Linked DNA regions of Homo sapiens: all the other regions are linked to region 1. The links are contacts of gene promoters, found by promoter capture Hi-C in blood cells and fetal thymus (Javierre and others, 2016). All regions are on one chromosome and are shown on one strand. The core of a region is centred on a gene start or on the middle of the fragment in contact, and the rest is flanking DNA. Distances in the headings are between cores, read along the strand shown.

Region 1 (2,700 bases), core at 86-2,585:
CCGGCCCTCTGTTCTCCCATCCCTGGGTGGGCCAGAGCATCTTACTCTCTGCTGCCTTGGGCCTCCACTTGGGCTGGGAAGATAAGAAAGTAGTGGACCTTCCCCTTCCTTCCCCAAGACTGGGAAAATCTTTCCAAATCTTATTCCCAGTCTTCCAGATGCGAGATTAGAATGTACAACAGATCCTCTCAAGAACACTGGGAGACCGAGGGTGGGAGAGAAAACTCCAAGGGGGGCGAGCTGACTATAGAGGGAATTGCCTGAGCGGGAAAGGAATCTTCCAAAGCCACAGAAAAGCCTTGGTTTGGAAGAAAGCCGTAGCACAGCTGCATTTCCAACGGGAAGGTCCTGAGCGCACACACTTCTGGGTCCTCCCCGCTCGGAGCAGGTAAACCTCAGAGTAGCTGACCGGCAGCACCCACAGAGTTTCCTCCCCACCACCCGCCTGGCGACCAACTGCAGCCGAAAAGAAAGAAAGAAAGGAAAGAAAGAAAGAAAGAAGAAGGAAGGAAGGAAGGAAGGAAGGAAGGAAGGAAGGAAGGAAAGAAAGAAAGAAAGACAAAGAAAGAGGAAGGAAGAAAGAAAGAAAAGAAAGAAAGAGAAAGAAAGAAAGAAAGAAAGAAAGAAAGAAAGAAAGAAAGAAAGAAAGAAAGAAAGAAAGAAAGAAAGAAAGAGAGAGAAAAAGAAAAAGGGAGAAAGGCAACAGAGGAGAAGGTCAGGAAAGCCGGGAACAAGTCAGCAGCCAGAAACTCTCCAGCGATCTGCCAAGGGGGAGAGGGTAGTTGCGCGCCGGCGCTGGGGATGGGGTGGGGGCGCTGGGGCACAAGGGCGCAGGGGCGCACGGCCACCGACAGCCGGGTGCGCCTAGCTTGAGGCCGCGGAGAGGAGCCGAACTGGGATGGGTGGGGGGTCTTCGGCCTCAACACTGCCTGCCAGCCCCAGTGCGCCCAAGTCTCCCCGCCAGAGCTGCCCTTCTGGAGGGGCTCTTCGCACGCACTGCTTTCCCCATTCTTCTGGCTGGAATTCTCCGGCCGTCACTGCAGTGTCCAGAGATGCTGCGCTGTAGACCCGGGACCCCTTAGGCGCCTCTTCCCGTCCCTCTGCCAAAGCGCAACGCCTGTACTTTTCCAGCTCCCTCTTTCCCTCTTGAAATTGAAAGTTATTGAGGTCGCTCAGGGTTGTTGCTCCAGCAGTTTCCTTCCCCGCCCCCGAGCTCCCCCCCGCCCCCCACAGCCATCCCCCCTCCTCTCCCCCTCCCTGCCCTCCTCTCCCTCCCCCCTCCCTGCCCTCCTCCTCCTCCTCCCCTATGTGGTGCTCCCGGGAGCCCAGCCCAACACTGGAGCGTCTCCTGCTCGCGCACGCCAGAAGCAGCTCGGGGTCTCTCCGCCGCCCCTTGGCCATGGCCGCTGTGCCGACGGCGCCCGCTCCCCTGCGCTCCAGGGGCCCCCGCCGCTGCAGCCGCAGCCGCCGCAGCTTCTGAGCCCAAGGGGCCGCCGCTGCAGCCGCCGCCGCCGCCGCTCGCCCGCCCGGATCCCGCCTGCGGCAGTTGCCGCACAACATGCTACCTGCGGCCGCCCCGGCGGCTCCTGGAACCCCGGTTCGCGGCGATGCCAGCCACCCCAGCGAAGCCGCCGCAGTTCAGTGCTTGGATAATTTGAAAGTACAATAGTTGGTTTCCCTGTCCACCCGCCCCACTTCGCTTGCCATCACAGCACGCCTATCGGATGTGAGAGGAGAAGTCCCGCTGCTCGGGCACTGTCTATATACGCCTAACACCTACATATATTTTAAAAACATTAAATATAATTAACAATCAAAAGAAAGAGGAGAAAGGAAGGGAAGCATTACTGGGTTACTATGCACTTGCGACTGATTTCTTGGCTTTTTATCATTTTGAACTTTATGGAATACATCGGCAGCCAAAACGCCTCCCGGGGAAGGCGCCAGCGAAGAAGTAAGTGCAGGGTTTTTTACGCGTTTGCTCCCTCCCGCCGCGTTCACCTGTCGGGTCGCTTTGCCTGTCCGGAGCCGGCTCCCAACTGCAGCGGTCCTCCCGCCCTGCGCCTCGCAGAGGAGATGCAGGTTCGGGCTTTGGGGGTATGGACGGCGTCTTTCACCCTTGCCTCTCGGCGCCCCTGCCTTCCGCAGCATCCTAGCCGGTGCGAGGGGCGGGCGGACGCGGCGCTAAGGTGGCTCCCGCCCCATGGTAACTTCAGGTTCGCGGGAAAGTTCGGTCCTGGGTTAGACTCGCACCCGGGATTTGTGCTTTCCTTTTGAGGATCGGACAGGGGCACCCAGCCGAAGGCACTTGGGACTCCCAGACGCAGGATGCCTCTGACCGCTGAGTAAATGACAAGGGAGGCGCGGCCGCGGTACCCGCTCACCTAGCGCAACCGCCTCGCGCGGGGAGACCTCGGCTGGGCCCTTAGGCTGGACTCCGGTAGCCGAACGCCCGCTACCCGGCCAGGAAGCCAGGGAGCGAGCGCCTGCGCGGCCGCATCCCCGACACGCACCAGCGGAGCCAAAGGGCGCGCGAGGCGATGGGGTTCGCGTGTCTGCGCGTTTGCAGAGCTGCCGGACGTCCCCCGCCCGAGGGTTGAAGACAGCAAAACCCCAGCTGTGGGGAGCCGGAGGTGCGGAGTTTCCAGGTTCTCTCTTGTCACATGTGAGCGTCTGTACCATCTCTGGCCCTTTCAAGTG
Region 2 (2,700 bases), core at 153-2,652, 1.2 Mb before region 1:
GGTACCCAGGTAGTTGGTACAAATAACATTTTGTGGCCTCTGCTTTTATTACAAGGATTCTTCTCCACCTTCAAGATACTGATTTTAAATCCTGCACACTCTAATACCGATACTGATGAGAAAACTAGTAGAAAATAGGTAATGATAATTGTGGAAAGCTGTTTGTTAGATTGGCAGAAAATAGGCTGGAGGGAGTGGGTCTGAGGTCAAACTATTATTGAATTGCCTCTGAATTCCACTGTCAGTTGGGATGCGTGGACATTTTCAGAGCATGAAGACTTTGCCCAGATATTTTTAAACGGATAATCTGGCACACACTTTATTCTGTTGGTTTTACTTGTCCATATAGAAACAACTTTTTGAGAGAATTAGCTCCAAAGATTGTGTCTTTTGTAGTAAACATTCCTTTATTTTTTAAAAAATAAATATAATTCCTTCTAAGCACCTTGTTTTGGAGGTTTTTGAGCAAGATAAGGGACAGTCTGTGTCCCGATTTTACAATCTAAAGGGCGGAATGTATACAGAGGAGGTAGCCAGTTACAATGCCTCGTGCTGTGGTCAGGTGATTTTACAGTATTTTGTAAGCTTGTGGGAGGAGCATCTAACCCAGCTCTGAAGAATTAGGGAAGGCTTTCCAGAGGAAATGAGACATGAAGAAATAAGTAGGAGTTGATCAGATGAGGAAATGGAGAGAATAATGTCCCAGGTTGAGAGACCCCCCGAGAGGTTCAGTTTGTGTGATAGAAAAACTAACAGAAATTGTCTAACTAGTGCATAGAGTTTGAGAGGATGAAAGGCGAGGCTGGAGAGGTAAACAAGGGACCAGATTATTAAGTGTGTTGGAAGTCATGTGAAGGAATTTGTCTTTATCTGAAGAGCAAAGTGAAACTTCACAATGTTTAATGGTGGGTTGGGAGGAAGATGTTGCGGAGTTATAGGAAGGGGGTTGATCTTTGAAAGGTCATTCTGGCATCATTGTGGAGAATGATTTGGAGGAGACCAGTCTGGAGGTATGGAGACCCGTTAGAAGGCTAGTAGATTAATCTACCCTGATGATGGCCTGAAATGAGAATGTGGTAGAGGAGATTATGAAAAGTATATCAATTTAAGGGATACAGTATTCAGGAGGTAAAACAGGGAGGACTTGATGGATACAGGTCAGTGATTCTCAACTGGGGGCAATTTTGCCCTCCCAGGGTACATTTTGCAATGTATTGAGATACTTTTGATTGTAACAACTTCTGGCACTTCTAGGGGTTGCTTCTGGGACCTAAATAATGGATAAAAGCCAGGGTTGCTATTAACATGGTACAGTGCACAGGACAGCACCCCCACCACCCCATCAACACACACACATAAAACAGGCTTATCCAGCCCTCAAAATGTCAGAAGTGCCAAGGTTTAGAAACCCTGATTTAGATATAAGAGGATAAGGAAATGAAAGAGGGTGAAGTCAAAGATGATTTCCAGGTTTCTGGCTAGGGTAAACTAGTAGTGGTGGTACCATTTCATTAAGCTCGGGAACACAGGAGGAGAAAAGATGGCCAGGGGAGTGGTGGGAGGTAGCAAAGCGATGAGTTGAGCTATGGAGTTGTGGAGTTTGAGGTGAGTTTGAGGCATCTAAGTAGAGATGTCTTTTAAATGGTTGGATAGTCTAGCACTCTGTAGAGGGATCTGTATCTCTAACCCAGATTACAGGAACTGTCGGTTTATAGATGGAAACTGAAAAAGAAGGGAAGCGATGAGATCACCCATGAGGTAAAAAGTGAAGGGGAGGCCTACACAGAACTCTGAAGAACACTAACATCATAAGGGACAGACAGAGGAAGAGGACCTGGAAAGGGAATAGAGAAGGAACAGAGAAATAGAAGGAACGCTGGAAAGGCTAAGAGAAGGGAGTATGTCAAAAAGAAAGGAATTGCCAGCAATGTCAGCAGCAATATTAGCCTGCCTTCATCCTCAAATCTGGGTTAGATGACCCTTGTATGTCCTTGCAGAGTCAGAGCAGGACTGGTTGTGTCCCCAAAGTGATGTTCATTGACCTTGAGGAGAGCAATTTCATGAAGTGGTGAAGCAAAAGGCAGATAGCAGTTGATTGAGAAGAACTTGGGAAAGGAAGGAGTGAAGACAGCAAATACAGACAACTCTCACAGGAATTTGGCAATCCAGGGGAGGAGGGAAAGGTAGTGGTAGCTACAGGAGAAGTTGGGGATTAAGAGAAAGCTTTTAAAACAGTGAAACCTTTTGTGTGTTCAAATCCCAGTGGGAAGATGCCTATAGAGAGAGGTTTAAAATGGCCCGGCGGGTAGAATGTTGACCCTGGGAAAGAGGAAACTCATTCCTCACTCTCTGTGTGCCAGGCACTGTTGGAGGCATGGGGATACAGCCGTAAACAAAACATGCAAAACTCCTTGCCCTTGTGGAGCTCACATTGTCGTTGCAGAAAAGGATAATAAGCAAAACAATAAGTAAAATTTATAGTTTATTAGATGGCAGAAAATAAAGAGGAAGGGGATGCAGTTTTAAAATTTTAGTCAGGAAAATCTGCACTAAGCAGGTGACATTTGGGTTAAGCCTTGAAAAAGGAGAAGGAGCAATTATATGGTTATATGGTTATTTACAAGTAAAAGGTTTGAAGTAGCTCCTGTGAAGGCTAGGAGAGAGAATTAGGGAAACAAGGATTGTTGTACAGCGGGTCAC
Region 3 (2,700 bases), core at 49-2,548, 1.1 Mb before region 1:
GACCTGCTTCTGTTTGCTTTAGGGCAGCTCCTCACAGTGGGTAGTATATTTGGAACGTCTGACTGTTCATATAGTACAATTAATAGAAAATGAGAGGAGGATCTTTGCAAAGGTGCTGCTGAAATATATTTTCGTAATTTGTGTTTGTAGTTTAAGTATAGCTTTAGGACATCAGTCAATTTTTGGTGCTTTTGTTTTGAAACATAATAACCAATAATTGTGAATAGACACAGGTCTTAAGCACAGTTTGTCCTCTCTTGGGCCTTTTGCCTCATCGATGGGTGGTACCTTCTGAAGGACTGGAGAAATACGTAGCTCTGTGTCCTTCTCCATGGCCATAGTTTTCACAAAACATTTGTTGATATTTTTCTTTTGGTTGCCTTTTAAATAGTTTTTTAAAAAAAATTCATGTGTCTAATCCCCTTTTTATTTTAAAGGTACAAAATTGAAATGTATGTAGTTTCCCAAATGTATTGCTCACTTACTACTCATGGTTCGTGATTTTTCTCAGGGATATAGAGTAGGGTAGAAAGCTTCTGGGAGACTGAAAGGAGAAAAATAATCTTTTCATGCCTAAATACTTTTCCTTTTTTCCTTTAGACTGTTTGCTACTGTTGTTTAGAATGACATTATGAGCGGCAGAAACACACTTTTCTTTCAATTTTAACAAATACATTGGTTTTCATTTTAGTAAAAATTCTTTTTTTAAAGTGTGTGTCTCCACTTTCCCAAAGGGGAAGAGACATAGCATTGTGTCATCTCTTAGTTGTTAGGAAGTGCTACTATTCTCATGTGAGTTTGGCTAAAGGAATGATCATCATGAATTTATTGAATACCTATTAATGGCACAGCCCTGTCTGTGATACAGTACAAGACTTGTGAATGGCATATATAACACTCTTATTAACAGAGTGTGTAGCTTTACTTAATTTAATGTAATTTGTTTAGTAGCATATTTTGCTTTTGTTTATCTAATTGGTGAGTGAATATGTATTTACTTCAATTGGTGCTAATCCCAAAGGAGGTAGTATGATATAAAGAAAAGAATAAATAGAGCAAAGTTTAAATCTTTTTACCAATTAGTATGTGACTTTGGGCAAGATTCTTAACTTGTCTGGGTTTCACGTCTATCATTTGTAAAATGGTAATACTAATATATTGTGAGGATTAAGTGAGGCAATATGTGTATATCATATTTCTAGGAAGTTGCCTGACACGTGGTAGACATTTAGTGAACTGTAATGGTTATCATTATTACTTTTTGATTATTATTTTGATGATATTTTAGATGCCTTTTTGGTGAAAGATGTTAGATGTAGCTAATATTAAATGGTGATGATAAAGAATTTGACCATAAACTCATTTTCTAGTACTCTTTTTGGCTAATTTCCAAGATATTAGTAATTTGCAACTGTTGGCAGGTTATAGCAGCAGGCAAGGGAATTGAAATATAAAATTATAAATGTCAAATTCTTTGTTTATAATTAATATGTGCAAGTGGATGCCAGTTGCTTTAGGTAGCACAGAACTCTGCAGCCGTAGATCTGATCCCCTCTCATCCCCTCTGTCAAGTGAGTCAGCTCCTCCAGTAATGAGAATTCACCCAGAAGACTAATGTATACTCCTTGGCCATGTCTACCTTCAGATGACCCATAGGTGGAAGGAAAGGAGTGTAGCTCCTTTTGAAGTTTTATCATTGTAAAATAGTGGACGCAGAAACCAGGTGTTAAGGAACTGACTGTCCTGGTTCTGGGAAGAGAAAATGGGGAGAAAAAGAGAAGGTTAGGAGAGTGAGATAATGGATCTCTGTAGTTTATATAATATTCTCTTTCGCATTTTTTTCCCACTACCCTTTGTAGTCCCCTTTTCCTGGAATCCCATGGTTCGTCTAGTAGGAGTCCCATTGTCTAGCAGTATTCTTTTGCTCGGCCTGCTAATTTAATTTATTTAAGTAGAATTCTTTTTTTAAAAAAGATAAAATAGATGCAATAATATTGCCATTTTTCTTTCTTTTTTTTCTCTCAGCAAAACCAAAGCCCAGTCTCTCATTTCTCCACGTTTGCAAAGCTTTCCAGTTAGTTCTTTAAAGATGAAAATCATGAATTAGTTTTTACATCATGGAATAAATTCAATTCTTATTGTATTATTTTGCCTGTAAGATACTACCCTAACCTTAAAGTGCTTACTATTTAAGTAATGAGAAATTGAAACACCGAGTTGCTAGCATAGATCACATATGCAGTATTTTTACTTTTGGTAACGCAAAAAGAAATGGGTGAGTCATGTTACTTGCCTCCTTGACACTTCACTCTCCTTTTTTTTTTAGCACCCCTTCTTCCACCAAAAAGATCCCCTAAAAAACTCCAACTGAGGTATAGCTAAATGTAAAAAGTGCTTCAATTTAATCAAAAGAACAACTAGATGACTACCAATGATTACCCAGTGACCAGTTCAGATAAGCTAATTTATTATGATTTTATTTAAAAAAAAATAAAAGCTTAAAGGGCACGAAGTTAAGTATCAGGTGCAGTCTAACAGATTATTCATCTCCTTTCAGCAGTGTACTTGTAAATTGGGTCTTCTCAAAACTCACTCTAACCAAATGGATAAGGTTCTGTTAAGGAAGCACAGGAAAGCTTTTCTGTTCCCCTTGACAACTAGTTCTTCTAGGTGAGTATCTGCCTTAATTGGCAGAATTGT
Region 4 (2,700 bases), core at 97-2,596, 1.1 Mb before region 1:
TACACTAACCATCACCAGTGTCCATCACATTGAATAAGAGGAGTCTGTTGTACGTTAGAGGATGCTTTTTTGTCTCCTCTCCTAGTCACTTACTTCTCATGTATATGTTTGTCTTTTGGTATTTTAAAGGAAGTAAGGCATTTTGATAATTCAGATGGTAACATTACAGCTCTTAGAAATCATAGCATTTAATAGAATCATTTGAGTTAGTAATATAATAGTAACTAACATTTATGTGCCAGGCACATGAGTAATACATGTAAAAAACAAACATTACCTGTAGATTTTGCAGTTTTAAGTCGTGATATTAGAAAGTAAAGTAAATGGCATTAGCATTCTTTATTGTGTGGCCTACATAAATAGTATTCCAAAGAATTAGGAGGACAAAGCTGTGGAGACTCTTTAATAATTCATGGAGCCATATAATAAATCAGCCATTCTATTTTAATGGAAAAATTTAAAAATTAAGACCCATTGTGGACTAATTTTTATACTTGCTTTCCACTGAGTTTTATTTGTTTAAGAAAGTCTGGTATTTTTTCCCAGATTTATAATATTTCCCTAAGCAAATTTATTTGAGACTGAAGGAAAACTGGGCTTTTGAGAATTTTTGTCCTATATTAAAATGATAAATGAGGGTACTCACCTTTGGTATTTTTAAACCTGTAAAGGCAGTGCTCATTTTTGTCAGGTTTACTTTTTATCATTTTATTTTGTTCTTTTCCAATTGATTTAAAAAAACAACAACAAGGAAAAGCCTCAAGTAATTTTTTGAAATGGTCTTCCCTATATAAGATCAAATTTAACTAGTGAATTTTTACTAGTATGATGTTTACTGTAACCAAAAATACTTTGTCATGTTAAATTAATCATGTTTGGTTTTTAATTAATTACTTCATTTCTACCTTTTGTTTGTGTGGAGAGGAATGTATATAATTGCAGCAAGATCTCAATCCTTTATAATGCAAGTGGTGACATAAAATTGTCAAACAGTCCTCACACACCTCTAACAAATTATTCTTGGGCTTGTTCAGCATTGTTGATTTTGGCAATGGAAGACTGTTAGTTTTAGATTTTTACACTTTTGTATACTGTGTCTCTTCATTTTTGATTTGTCACTTGTTAGGTTTAACTTCAGTATAACTTTTGGCCCACTTGGTATGCTGTTATAAAGTATTCTCCCTATCCCTCTTTTAAAAGTGTAAATGTAAGTTACAACAAAAATTGTCTAAGCAATATTGATATTTTATAAAATGTTGAAGTTTTGGATTATTGGTCATAGTTTTCAGACTTGCTTATGGCACATATGTAGTAAAGAAGAAAATTCTTGACAACTGTATTAAAATTTTGAAATTGCCTGATAAGAAGGGCCAGGTTTTTTCATTATTCCTTGTTGATATATTCTGAAAGCCAAGTGAATGATGAGTAACACTTTTATAATGCATTATTGTTTATAAAACTTCCCTATCCATTTGACTTTATTAATTTCCCCATTTTAGAAATGAGGAAGAGTAGCCTGGGACTATCCTATTTTGCTTAAATAGTAAGTGGAAGAGTTGAGACCAAAACTCCTCTTTGTACTTGAAATTCTGTGTCGTTTTTTTCTACATCTTGCTGCCTCTCTACCGAAGCATATTTCTACCTTTAGAATGTGCCAAGATTAAAAGGTAAATATTCTTTTTATGTTTTTTTTTAATTTTTTTTTTGAGATAGAGTCTTACTCTGTTGCCAGGCTGGAGTGCAGTGGCGTGATCTTGACTCACTGCAACCTCCGCCTTCTGGGTTCAAGTGATTCTCCTTGCCTCAGCCTCCCGAGTAGCTGGGACTACAGGCGTGTGCCACCATGCCCAGCTAATTTTTGTATTTTTAGTAGAGACGGGGTTTCACCATGTTGGCCAGGATGGTCTCGATCTCCTAACCTCGTGATCCGCCCACCTCAGCCTCCCAAAGTGCTGGGATTATAGGCGCGAGCCATCGCGCCCGGCTCTAAAAGGTAAATATTCTTGAGTGACATATTACTAGTTTTTTTTAAAGATAGTCTTTCCTTGTCCTGCTGTATAGCTAGTGTTACTTTTGGGGCCATGGTAGAATGTGGTTTTTTGGGTTTTTTTTTTTTTTTTTTGAGACGGAGTCTTGCTCTGTTGCCCAGGATGGAGTGCAGTGGCGGGATCTCAGCGCACTGCAAGCTCCGCCTCCCGGGTTCACGCCATTCTCCTGCCTCAGCCTCCCAAGTAGCTGGGACTACAGGCGCCTGCCACCCCGTCCGGCTAATTTCGTTTTTGTATTTTTAGTAGAGACGGGGTTTCACCATGTTAGCCAGGATGGTCTCGATTTCCTGACCTCGTGATCCGCCAGCCTCGGCCTCCCAAAGTGCTGGGATTACAGGCATGAGCCACCGCGCCCGGCCGTTTGTTTTACTAGATCTTGCTGTCCCACTTAACACAACGTGTAGTTGATGCTGCTATATGTGGTTGTAGTCACAGTGGTTACTTCTATAAAACATTTTTCTTATATGAAATGTATAGGATAAAAGGCTGATCTCCAGAGTTGTCCACAACAGACTGAGGTATAATAGTTACGTTTTCAATGACGGTCACCTGAAGCAATTCTCTCTCAACCTTCTCCATAGAATCTACTTGAACAGATGAAAAGAGCACCCAGGGTAGCCTTTTCAAGATTTCCTTGAAATCTTTTCAAAAA
Region 5 (2,732 bases), core at 12-2,511, 2.0 Mb before region 1:
TGTCCATTCTTCATTGAACTTAAGCCTAAAAACAGTTTCCCCTGGATTCTAGGGTCTTCATTTCTGAAGGCTCCCATGTAACCCAAATCTTTGATTACATAAATTTGTTATGGTTTGAATTGTTGTGATGGTTAATACTGAGTGTCAACTGGACTGGGTTGAAGGATGCCAAGTATTGATCCTGGGTGTGTCTGTGAGGGTGTTGCCAAAGGAGATTAATATTTGAGTCAGTGGGCTGGGAAAGGCAGGCTCACCCTTATTCTTGGTGCGCACCATCTAATCAGCTGCCAGCACAGCTGGAATATAAAGCAGTGAAAAACACGAAAACACTAGACTGGCCTAGCCTCCCAGCGCTTCCTGCGCTTGAACATCAGATTCCAAGTTCTTCAGTTTTGGGGCTCGGACTGACTCTCCTTGCTCCTCAGCTTGCAGATGGCCTATTGTGGGAGATCGTGTGAGTTAATACTTAATAAACTCTATATATATATATATATATATATATATATATATATATATATATATATAAAATTAGTTCTATCCCTCTGAGAACTCACTAACACACTTGCTAACCTATCTTTTGTTGTAGGAGTTTTAGCCTGACCCTTATGATGGGTGAGGAAAGGTATCACTCCTTTCCCTTCCTATGGTGGCATCTGTTAAGGATGTTAAGGATGTGTTAAGGAAGCAGGTGAACAATGACTAACAACAACAGAGGGAAACAGGAAAACTCCAAGAGTGGCTGTTTGTGGAAATGACGGACAAAAATCTCCACCCCTGCCTAGGCTCAGAAGGCATTCCTTCAGTGTAGGGATCCCCATATTGTACAGGGTAATAACTTTTACTTGTAATGATTCTGAGTTGTCAAGAAAAAGGTACTGCTGTGTTTCTCACCTGAGAGTGATTTTGCCCTCCAGGAGACATGTGGCAATGTAGGGAGACTTTTGATCATCATGACCATGGGGCTACTACTCTCTACCTCTAGTGGGTAGAGGCCAGTGATGTTCCTAAACATCATATAGCACAACAAAGAATTATCCAGCAAAAATGTCGATAGTGCCAATGTTGAGAAACCCTGCATTAAAATCTCAGAGATCTAATAAATTTTAAATGCATTTTAGAGATTGTTAGTAAAAGCAATTATATATTTCTCAAAAAGTTTTCAAGGGTAAAGGAATAAGCTTTAGTATATGGGAACCTCAGGATACAACTAAATAATATGTCCTTTTGTAATGAAAATAAGCACCTTTATCCTCCAAGTTCTCTGAATATCCATGCATTATTTACAGATCCAGTGAATATGTCTAGAAACTTTAGTGGAATGTAGAAAAGACAAAATTTATTCATTAAGCTTTGTGTAAAGCATTTCATGTAATGCATTCAATTTGTTGGGAAGCTACAACTTTTTGAGGGATAAACATGAAATGTTTGTACTTTATGAAATAATTGTTCTTTCAACTGGCTGAATAGGGGCTCTCTTTCAGGCATCTGGTCAAGATTTATTAATTTTTGTTAGTTTTTAGTAATTAGAACAGTCTCATATTGGTATATGATCTATATGATTTAGTCTTCTCAATGTCAAAGTAAATCTTTTATTTTTTTTGAGGTAGAGTCTTGCTCTGTCACCAAGGGTGGAGTGCAATGGCACAATCTCAGCTCACTGCAACCTCTGCCTCCCAGGTTCAAGCAATTCTCCTGCCTTAGCTTCCCAAGTAGTTGGGATTACAGGTGCCCACCACATGCCCGGCTAATTTTTGTATTTGTAGTAGAGACGGGGTTTTGCCATGCTGGTCAGGCTGGTCTCGAACTCCTGACCTCAGGAGATCCACCCACCTCGGCCTCCCAAAGTGCAAAGTAAATCTTATAGGGAAGGAAAAGTTTCCTCAAACCTCCTAGGGCTCCTGGCTCGGTCTGAAATAAAAACCGACAAAGACAGATTAACAGGAGAAAAGCACATTTATTTAACCAAAAGCAACTTATTTAATCAAAGCTTTATGTGACGGGGAGTCTTCATAAATGAAGACCTAAAGACCTAAGAAAACTCTATTTTTATGCTTAATTTTATGTTCAGTGAAGAATGGACAGCCATGAGGAAATGTGATTGAACAGAAGGGGTATGATCTAATGGTCATAGGTTGAGAGGGGAAACCCAGTGATACGGTTTGGATCTGTGTTCCCACCAAACCTCATGTTGAAATGTAATACCCAGTGTTGGAGGTAGGGTGCAATGCGAGGTCCTTGGCTCACGGAAGCGGCTCCCTCATGAATGGATTAGCACCATCCCCTTTCTGATAAGTGAGTTCGCGGAAGATTTGGTCATTTAAAAGTGTGGGGCACCTCCTACTCTCTCTCTCTTGCCCCTCTCTTGCCATGTGATATGCCGACTCCTGCTTCACCTTCTACTGTGAGTAAAAGCTCCCTGTGACCTCCTCGGAAGCCAAGCAGATGCTGAAGACATGCTTCCTGTACAGTCTGCAGGACTGAGAGTCAATTAAACTTCTTTTTAAAATAAACTACCCAGTCCCAAGTATTTAAAGCAATGCAAGAACATCCTAACACACCAAGCAAGGCTTGGCTGTTGGATGCTTCTTGGCCTCTTGGTGTGGTGCTCCTCCCTCCAGGGTGTGGGGCAGAACCACTCTAGAATGAGGGTCTTGTGACCTACTATCAGTCAAGGTAGGCCAAATAATTTATGGCCAGCTCCTACACAGAAAGGTGGGGCAAGGTTAGAGGAA
Region 6 (2,730 bases), core at 164-2,663, 1.1 Mb before region 1:
AGCAAGTTGACATTTAGACATAACTGAGGCCAACCTGGAATTTGGCTCTTATCCCTTCCTTTATAAGCCCTTGTAGACAGGGCTCTTTGGGGGATGGAGGTTTAATTGTAATGGCAGTCTTTTAAGCCTGGGTCATGGAACAAAATAGGGCTTAATAGATGAATGTTAAGATAAGTCAGCTTCCCTTATGTAACTGCTAGCCCTATTTCTTGTGATATTAAGATGTGCTTAGTATATTTTTGTTTTAAAATTTGGAAGTTCTTACTAAGATAATCATGTTGCAGTCATGCCAAACTGAATTGCCTAAAAAGGAACCTGTTTTGACCTCTATGACTTTAAAAATCTCTCCTTTAATCAAGCTTCCCTGGCTCTCTCCTGAGGATTTATCGGAAGAACTCTATTTTGGCTAACATGCAGCAGTGAAGATTAGCTGGGCTTATGTGTGAAGTTAGTCAAATTAAAAGAAAAGGAAAAAGGCTGAGGAGAAAATTAAAATTGAAAATGTAAATGGTACTTATGATATTGGAGTTGTGCTTTGATGGACTGCCAAAGTAATGTGTTGTAAGTTGGTGAAGTGGGTCAATATGGGCTGAGTTGTTATTGATGAGTTTTAAAAATCTTTAAGAGTCCCTTAAAATTTGTGTATAAATCTTGGAGTATCTCACCACAAGTTGGAGTGACTTCTGCACAAAGAGCCAAATTGCCTTTGCATTTTTCCATTTTTCTTTTTTCTTTTTTTATTTTATTTTATTATTATTATACTTTAAGTTTTAGGGTACATGTGCATAATGTGCAGGTTAGTTACATATGTATACATGTGCCATGCTGGTGTGCTGCACCCATTAACTCATCATTTAGCATTAGGTATATCTCCTAATGCTATCCCTCCCCCCTCCCCCCACCCCACAACAGTCCCCAGAGTGTGATGTTCCCCTTCCTGTGTCCATGTGTTCTCATTGTTCAATTCCCACCTATGAGTGAGAACATGCGGTGTTTTGTTTTTTGTTCTTGCGATAGTTTACTGAGAATGATGATTTCCAATTTCATCCATGTCCCTACAAAGGACATGAACTCATCATTTTTTATGGCTGCATAGTATTCCATGGTGTATATGTGCCACATTTTCTTAGTCCAGTCTATCATTGTTGGACATTTGGGTTGGTTCCAAGTCTTTGCTATTGTGAATAGTGCCGCAATAAACATACGTGTGCATGTGTCTTTATAGCAGCATGATTTATAGTCCTTTGGGTATATACCCAGTAATGGGATGGCTGGGTCAAATGGTATTTCTAGTTCTAGATCCCTGAGGAATTGCCACACTGACTTCTACAATGGTTGAACTAGTTTACAGTCCCACCAACAGTGTAAAACTGTTCCTATTTCTCCACATCCTCTCCAGCACCTGTTGTTTCCTGACTTTTTAATGATTGCCATTCTAACTGGTGTGAGATGGTATCTCATTGTGGTTTTGATTTGCATTTCTCTGATGGCCAGTGATGGTGAGCATTTTTTCATGTGTCTTTTGGCTGCATAAATGTCTTCTTTTGAGAAGTGTCTGTTCATATCCTTTGCCCACTTTTTGATGGGGTCGTTTGTTTTTTTCTTGTAAATTTGTTGGAGTTCATTGTAGATTCTGGATATTAGCCCTTTGTCAGATGAGTAGGTTGTGAAAATTTTCTCCCATTCTGTAGGTTGCCTGTTCACTCTGATGGTAGTTTCTTTTGCTGTGCAGAAGCTCTTTAGTTTAATTAGATCCCATTTGTCAATTTTGTCTTTTGTTGCCATTGCTTTTGGTGTTTTAGACATGAAGTCCTTGCCCATGCCTATGTCCTGAATGGTAATGCCTAGGTTTTCTTCTAGGGTTTTTATGGTTTTAGGTCTAACGTTTAAGTCTTTAATCCATCTTGAATTAATTTTTGTATAAAGTGTAAGGAAGGGATCCAGTTTCAGCTTTCTCCGTATGGCTAGCCAGTTTTCCCAGCACCATTTGTTAAATAGGGAATCCTTTCCCCATTGCTTGTTTTTCTCAGGTTTGTCAAAGATCAGATAGCTGTAGATATGCGGCATTATTTCTGAGGGCTCTGTTCTGTTCCGTCGATCTATATCTCTGTTTTGGTACCAGTACCATGCTGTTTTGGTTACTGTAGCCTTGTAGTATAGTTTGAAGTCAGGTAGCATGATGCCTCCATTTTTCTACATACCAATTGAGAAGCAATTCTCCATAGATCTCTTGCATTTCTATATGTCTTTCTAAGAAAGGCACAGACTTCTTGTGTCCTATACTGTGTTTTTGAGGATATTTGTATAGTGAACAATCTTGGAAGATATAGAGTCTTTCTCTCCCCTGTCTCCCCCTCGCTTTTAACTTCTGGAGCAGAGGTTTAAGTCTGTGTACAACCTTGGAAGATAGTGTCTTCCTTTCAGAGTAAAGGCATGCTTACTGCCCATTATAAAAGATTGGGTTCCCTAAGCTTAATATTTCTTCTTTCTAATACAACCTACTGTAAGTGCAGGCACCCATCTGGGCCTAATCTGGTCACTCTTCTGGGACTTGGGTATAAGGAAGAACTGATTGTTAAAATGCTGATTATCAGGCCAGGCACAGTGGCTCATGCCTGTAATCCCAGCATTTTGGGAGGCTGAGGCAGGTGGATCACCTGAGGTCAGGAGTTTGAGATCAGCCTGGCCAACATGGTGAAACCCCATCTCTACTAAAAATACAAAAATTAC

Evidence for each region. The method cuts DNA at HindIII sites, captures the fragments that hold promoters and counts their contacts. A CHiCAGO score of 5 or more calls a contact.
Region 2: a fragment that was not itself captured here is called in contact with the fragment with the promoter of RSPO3 in region 1 in 1 of 17 cell types (M1 macrophages); the score reaches 5.7 in M1 macrophages.
Region 3: a fragment that was not itself captured here is called in contact with the fragment with the promoter of RSPO3 in region 1 in 7 of 17 cell types (M1 macrophages, M2 macrophages, megakaryocytes and 4 more); the score reaches 10.0 in M1 macrophages.
Region 4: a fragment that was not itself captured here is called in contact with the fragment with the promoter of RSPO3 in region 1 in 4 of 17 cell types (megakaryocytes, endothelial precursors, erythroblasts and 1 more); the score reaches 6.8 in megakaryocytes.
Region 5: a fragment that was not itself captured here is called in contact with the fragment with the promoter of RSPO3 in region 1 in 1 of 17 cell types (activated CD4 T cells); the score reaches 5.5 in activated CD4 T cells.
Region 6: a contact is called between a fragment that was not itself captured here and the fragment with the promoter of RSPO3 in region 1, in 6 of 17 cell types (endothelial precursors, megakaryocytes, M1 macrophages and 3 more). The highest score is 9.8, in endothelial precursors.

Annotation. Positions count from the first base shown.
Region 1 is chr6:127,117,336-127,120,035 of GRCh38, forward strand. RSPO3 (R-spondin 3) reads left to right here and starts at 1,336. Exons shown (of 5, transcript NM_032784.5): 1 at 1,336-1,954. The coding sequence starts at 1,858. It overlaps LOC105377989 (a long non-coding RNA gene), which reads right to left. Exons shown (of 14, transcript XR_002956387.2): 4 at 1,566-2,700. The HindIII fragment of the contact is 5,242 bases long and covers 1-2,700 here.
Region 2 is chr6:125,957,493-125,960,192 of GRCh38, forward strand. The region is part of intron 1 of HINT3 (histidine triad nucleotide binding protein 3); the gene reads left to right. Among named protein-coding and RNA genes, the nearest start is that of HINT3, 2.1 kb to the left of the region's middle. RefSeq lists an enhancer at 451-500. The HindIII fragment of the contact is 1,638 bases long and covers 584-2,221 here.
Region 3 is chr6:126,004,285-126,006,984 of GRCh38, forward strand. All of the region lies in intron 7 of TRMT11 (tRNA methyltransferase 11), which reads left to right. Among named protein-coding and RNA genes, the nearest start is that of TRMT11, 19 kb to the left of the region's middle. The HindIII fragment of the contact is 1,534 bases long and covers 532-2,065 here.
Region 4 is chr6:126,024,699-126,027,398 of GRCh38, forward strand. All of the region lies in intron 12 of TRMT11 (tRNA methyltransferase 11), which reads left to right. Among named protein-coding and RNA genes, the nearest start is that of TRMT11, 40 kb to the left of the region's middle. The HindIII fragment of the contact is 8,451 bases long and covers 1-2,700 here.
Region 5 is chr6:125,144,314-125,147,045 of GRCh38, forward strand. No RefSeq gene overlaps it. Among named protein-coding and RNA genes, the nearest start is that of TPD52L1, 8.1 kb to the right of the region's middle. The HindIII fragment of the contact is 170 bases long and covers 1,177-1,346 here.
Region 6 is chr6:126,042,311-126,045,040 of GRCh38, forward strand. It overlaps a transcript of TRMT11 not described here. Among named protein-coding and RNA genes, the nearest start is that of TRMT11, 57 kb to the left of the region's middle. The HindIII fragment of the contact is 2,112 bases long and covers 358-2,469 here.